Linked DNA regions of Homo sapiens: region 2 is linked to region 1. Evidence: promoter capture Hi-C in 16 types of primary human blood cells and fetal thymus (Javierre and others, 2016). All regions are on one chromosome and are shown on one strand. Each heading gives the region's core, a stretch centred on a gene start or on the middle of the fragment in contact. The rest is flanking DNA. Distances are from core to core; before and after follow the strand shown. Region 1 holds the start of C10orf126 (chromosome 10 open reading frame 126). Region 2 overlaps BAMBI (BMP and activin membrane bound inhibitor).

Evidence for each region. The method cuts DNA at HindIII sites, captures the fragments that hold promoters and counts their contacts. A CHiCAGO score of 5 or more calls a contact.
Region 2: a contact is called between a fragment that was not itself captured here and the fragment with the promoter of C10orf126 in region 1, in 1 of 17 cell types (megakaryocytes). The highest score is 6.3, in megakaryocytes.

Annotation. Positions count from the first base shown.
Region 1 is chr10:28,845,012-28,847,983 of GRCh38, reverse strand. C10orf126 (chromosome 10 open reading frame 126) reads right to left here and starts at 1,576. Exons shown (of 5, transcript NR_164114.1): 1 at 1,521-1,576; 2 at 721-865. The HindIII fragment of the contact is 7,202 bases long and covers 1-2,334 here.
Region 2 is chr10:28,681,987-28,685,135 of GRCh38, reverse strand. It overlaps BAMBI (BMP and activin membrane bound inhibitor), which reads right to left. Exons shown (of 3, transcript NM_012342.3): 3 at 2,204-3,149. The coding sequence ends at 2,735. Among named protein-coding and RNA genes, the nearest start is that of BAMBI, 6.0 kb to the right of the region's middle. RefSeq lists an enhancer at 353-1,261. The HindIII fragment of the contact is 784 bases long and covers 964-1,747 here.

The DNA of each region.
Region 1 (2,972 bases), core at 327-2,826:
TTTCAATTGCTCCCTAACTGCCTACAGCTTTTCATTATCCTAATGTAGAGCCTCAATTCAATTGAGCAACAAGCAGCCAATTCCATTGTCCTTGGATACCTTGCTTCTCTCTGACCTCTCAAATGCCTGAATCCTCTCTCCATCCGGGGCTTTCCCGTCCACCAGAACATTCTTCCAAGTCACTGACATTGAACGTTTTAGGCAGGGCTCAGTGGCCCGTGCCTGTAATCCCAACACTTTGGGAGGACAAGGCAAGAGGATCACTAAAGGCCAGGAGTTCAAGACCAGCCTGAGCCTTGCTCTGTTGCCCAGGCTGGAGTGCAGTGGCATGATCATAGCTCACTGCAGCCTCGAGCTCCTGCGCTCAAGCAATCCTCCCGCCTCAACCTCCTGAGTAGTTGGGACTCCAGGCATGAGCCACCATGCCTGGCCGCAACATTCAGATGGATTTTTAAACTACCTGAGCTAAGTTAATTTCCTCATAGATTGGATGTGGATGTGAGAGCAAAAGAAGAGTCAAGGATGACCCAAGGGTTTGCTTTGAGCACATTCCTCAGTGCTTCCAGGGCATATGGCCTCTGAATGGTGCCCATGGGCTTATAAATCCATCTCCTCCCAAGAGATAACACATTTATTTTGTCCCTGGACCTTATGAAAGTTGTCAGAATCAAAATAGAATCACTAGTGTTTTTTAAGGAAAACAACAAACAAACAAAAAACCTGAACTGGATGCAGTGGTTCATGGCTGTAGTCGCAACTCAGGAAGCTGAGGCAGGAGGACTATTTGAGCTCAGGAGGTTGAGGCTGCAGTGAGCTATGATCACACCATTGCACTCCAGCCTGGGCGACAGAAAGAGGCCCATCTCTAAAAAACAAACATAAAAAGACTTCACTCTCATCACTCTTGAGATTAAGGATTTACCTAAGTAGTAAAATATGTCAGATCAGATTCTGGCCTCAGGAACTCTGAATCTGGGATGTGAAAAGGTTTCTGGAGAGGCATTCTGTTTCTCATATCATTAACCACAGGAAGATATTATTTGGTATACAAGAGGACATTGCTTAAAGAGGTGAGAAACAGAAACTATCTCTCCCTTATATTTCTCCAAATACCTTGTAAAGTTGTGAGTTAAAGAAAAAAGAATGATGTTCACTCAAAGGGGAGATGCAAAAATAAAAAGGTAAAACCTTTTCCCTTACCCTAAGGAGATAATGTGTGCATTTTAAAAAAGTTCTAATATTGTTTCTGCAAGTCAATATATAAGCATTATTGAAAAGTCCAATCTTGCCTGTGTTTTACAGCTCTCAGCTCCTTTCAGGAAGCAACTAAATCAGAAAACAGTGTTCTCTCTTCCTTGGAGCTGGCACAGGTTTTGATAACATCGATTGAATGCCAAGCGTAAGTACAGATTGGAAGTTAGAAGTATTGCTATTGACCGTTTTCTAATATGTCCTTCAGCTCAGTAATTAATCGATTTGTGACAAAATGAATAAGAAGCTGAGGTCTTCTAAGAGCTTACCATGTGGCAGACGCGAGCTCAGTGCTGTACATTCGCATTCATGCTCTTCATCCCTGTCTCTCAAGCCACTCGTCACACCCACACTCTCCGGGCCAGGAGGCTTGCACAACCTGCACTGGGAAACTTTCTCCCACCTGTTCTTGACTCCTGAAACCCCTCCACGGTGCCATCAGCCTGATCCACTAATAGCAAAACGCCTCACATCCCAAACTAACTTCCAAATAGTCCCTCCTTGTTCTGACAAAAACTGACTCTTCCCTGAGGACGATGCTCACATCTTCTCTCATGCGCTGGCTGTTTTTCTTTTTCTTTTTTTGAGATGGAGTCTCCCTCTGTAGCCAGGCTGGAGTGCAGTGGTGCGGTCTCAGCTCACTGCAACCTCCACCTCCCGGGTTCAAGTGGTTCTCCTACCTCAGCCTCCCAAGTAGCTGGGATTACAGGCACACACCACCACACCCAGCTAATTTTTGTATTTTTAGTGGAGACGGGGTTTCACCATGTTGACCAGGATGGTCTCAATCTCTTGACCTCGTGATCTGCCCGTCTCAGCCCCCCAAAGTGCTGGGATTACAGGCGTGAGCCACTGCGCCCAGCCACTGGCTGTTTTTCATTCCAGGCCCTCCTGCCACCTCCTGCAGACCTGGAGGTGATGGAGGGACCCTGCTGGTCCTCTTTTCCCCTTCCAGAACCTTCTCCTTCCCTTCTACTGCAAATCTCGTACCATCATCATCTATCACCCCTGAAACTGTCCCTAGAAACTTTATACAATTAATCAGAAGAGAAGGGAGGGAGAGAAACAAAAATAAGCCAAGCTTGCACATACTCAGTGTTAGTCATGGGGTCAGCTGTTCTCTGATCCTTCCTCATAGTGTTTTGCTACCTATTGCTCCAGAATCACACAGACCCTGTCACAAGATTAGAGTCCCCCTTCACTGCTCCACAGATAACAACTGAACATTGTGAAATGTTGCTTTCCATTTGAGATATTCTTGTAGGTCATGCATACTGATGAAACTACTGACGCCAGCTGGTCTGAAGGACCCCACGAGAAGCTGACTCACTGAAGAATGCAGTTTCTACATCCTGATGATTTCATCCCCCTTTCCCCAACCAATCAATGACTATAGTTTTTCAGCCCCTCACCCCCCATAATCCCCTTGAAAACCTCAGCCTAGAACTCTTCGGGGAGATGGATTTGAGGGTCTTCTCCCATCTGCTCACTCGGCCTCCCTGCTGTCATCAAACCCTCTCTCTGCTGCAAAGCCTGCTGTCTTGGTGTATTGGTCTGTTTCTGCACAACAGGCATACAAACATGTTGGTCCTGTAATACCCCTGCCCAACATTGTTCACCACCTTTTTCAACAACATCAGTTCTCAGCCCATTGGCATCCTCCCCAATACTTCTCCTCTCTTTTCTGAGCATGTTCAATGCATAGATAATAATCTTTCCAA
Region 2 (3,149 bases), core at 106-2,605, 160 kb after region 1:
GGCTGGCCTATTATGTGGCTAGAAGCGGAGCCCCAGAAAACTGAGAGGCCATGGGCACAGTGCCACCTCCCCACAGTACAGGGAGCTGTAAATAGCCTCGTGAATATACAATAGGAAGAACAAAGGCCCAAGATCAAGTGGAGAGGCTGCATGCATCCTCCATGAAGTTTGTGGTAACACCAGTCCAGACATAGGCCTCTCTGGGAGGAAGGGGTTCACTGATTTCAAAGTGTTTCAAAGCACATGACTTTAAATCCTTCATTGTTTTATTTCCTAAAGAATTGCAGAGTTCCTGGTTAACCTGTACTTGGAAAAAATGAGGTGAACCGGCCCTCATCAGGGCAAGCAGAGAAAAGAAACTCTGACTACGTAACAGATATAAAAACTGGCCACTTGAAGAATTGCTGAGCTTGCATAATGTCGTACATGAAATGAGAATGTACAAGGAGCAAGAAGTCCTTTCATCTCTAAACTACAATCTACTATAATGTGATCAAGAGCCAGAGTGGGGTTGGGCAGAGTGGCTCACACCTTAATCCCAGCACTTTAGGAGGCTGAGGCAGGAGGATCACTTGAGGTCAGGAGTTTGGGACCAGCCTGGCCAACATGGTGAAAACCCTGTCTCTACTAAAAATACAGAAATTAGCCAGGCATGGTGGTGGGTGGCTGTAATCCCAGCTGCTTCAGAGGCTGAGGCAGGAGAATCGCTTGAACCCGCGGCGGGGCAGGGGGCAGGGTGGTGTGCACCACGTGTGGTGTGTGGCGAGTGGGGTGGAGGTTGTAGTGATACATATGGCGCCACCGGACTCCAGCCCGGGCGACAGAGTGAGACTCAAAGAGCCAGAGGTGGAGGTGAGGGTGGAAATTTCACCAACAGACAACTTTGATCAATTCCCTTGACAGGTTTGAAGGGTTGGGTTCAACAATTCTTTGGCTTCCTCAAAAACTGACATACATAAAGCTTAACATCTTTTATAAAATATAAGGCATGCATGCAAGAGCTGCTCATCTTAAAAGGGACAGTACGAATGCTATCATTTATTAATATGTGTTTATTCCACAGCTTAGTTTTTTGGGGCAGGTGGTCTATTAATATTAATAAAAGAAAACCCCATACTCGAATATGCAGGCTGTAATTTTTTTTTTTTGAGATGGAGTCTCCCTCTGTTGCCCAGGCTGGAGTGCAGTGGCACAATCTCAGCTTACAACCTCTGCCTCCTGGGTTCAAGCAATTCTCCTGCCTCAGCCTCCCGAGTAGCTGGGACTACAGATGCACGCCACCACGCCCAGCTAATTTTTGCATTTTTAGTAGAGACAGGGTTTCACTATGTTGGCCAGGCTGGTCTTGAACTCCTTACCTTGTGATCCACCTGCCTCGGCCTCCCAAAGTGCTAGGATTACAGGTGTGAGCCACCGCGCCCGGCCTACGGGTTAACTTTTAAGCAAAAATTTCACATATACAAAGGAATTCAGAAGATACCCTCCATGGCATAATATTCTCACATTTAAAATAAGAAAGATCCACTGGGGGCACGGGAAGTACACAAATAAAGCATACGTTTAAATTCAGGATGGGCAATGTTATCAGGACAAAAAGTCTTATAAGAGGAAACATTGTTTCCTAGCTGTATTAGTTACTGGCTAAAGCCAATGTTCTATTTGGTTACATAAAGGATCATTTGGGAGGATGAAACCTAGTAGCAGTTATTTAAATCAATTGGTGTATCGTGTTCACTACAGAAAAGCTTTCTAAGTATTAAAAAAAAAAAAAGCATCACACTGTTGAAGCACAAGGTTTAAAATTAAGTGTGTTGTACAGTAAGGTTTGGCTAATTGGGGAGCCAAAATACTTAATTTGGCTTAGGACAAAATAAACTGGCCAATTAATCAACAGTAAAAGGAGACAGTGACTGACTTGAACAAAAAAACAGTTGTTTAGTTGGTTTTTTTTTCTTTTTTGGGTGGAGGTATACACATTGGAAAAGGTATTCCGGAACACCTGGATCAAAATGACCTTTGCTAGGTCAACTCCAGAAATTGATCAATCATATCTGACCTGGTACACATAAATTCCAGATCTCCTTCTTAGATGAAAGCTAAAACCAGAGTTATCCTATAGCCAGAATGTGGGTAAGACACTAAAAGATGGTCAGTATACATTTAGAAACTCCACACTGTAAGAAAATTACACAGGCACATGGAAGAATAAGCAAGATCTTGGTCTTGTTTAAAAAAGAAAAGAGAAAAAAAAAAACCAAGCCACATCCTAGAGTTGAGAACAAATTATTAACAGCAAATGGCCATTTGTATAATTAACATGTACTGTCTCACGTTTCCCAGTTAAATTTATGAAAGACACTATTAAATTTCAGACAAAATATATATATTTCTTTTAAATCTTTACAATAAATCAAGATGTAGAAGCTTACATAGGGCACATTTTTGTTTATTTAGGTACTCAATTCCAGCTCCCTTGGATGCAAATAACCCTGGTGACAGTGTGTACAAAGTCTTCTCTTTGCTTTTTATAATTTTAAAAGCAAATAACACATTTAACTGTATTTAAGTCTGTGCAAATAATCCTTCAGAAGAAATATCCAAGATTCTGTTTGCAGAGGTCATTTTGTCTCTCAAAGATGATTAAATGAGTTTGTCTTCAGATAAAGTGCTCCTGTCCAGCAGAACTCAAAAGGCCTTCAAGCTGTTCAGTAAGTGTAGTTCAGATAAGACTCCGTCATACGAATTCCAGCTTCCCGTGCCCACTGTACATGCCCCAGTGAACAAGCGAGAGGATCTTATCGTTGCTGAGGTCTGCTTGTCTCATTTTATCACAGGTCAGACAGCAGTTCTCGTGCCCACTGACCGGCACCATGCATTCCAAGTCTAACTTTGCAACCTGCCCCTTTTTGGAATGGTGTCCGTGAAAGCTGTAGTGCAAACGGGAGAGCATCTGTTGCCGCTGATCCTGCAGCCTCTTATTTTCACTTCGAAGCATCCTCAGGGCCAACATAATAAGCAACACTAAAATCAGCCCTCCAGCAATGGGCACGGCAATGACCGCTGCCCGGAACCACAACTCTTTGGAAGAAGTCAGCTCCTGCACCTTGGTGATAAGGTTTCTGCTACCATCATGCTGATACCTGTTTCCT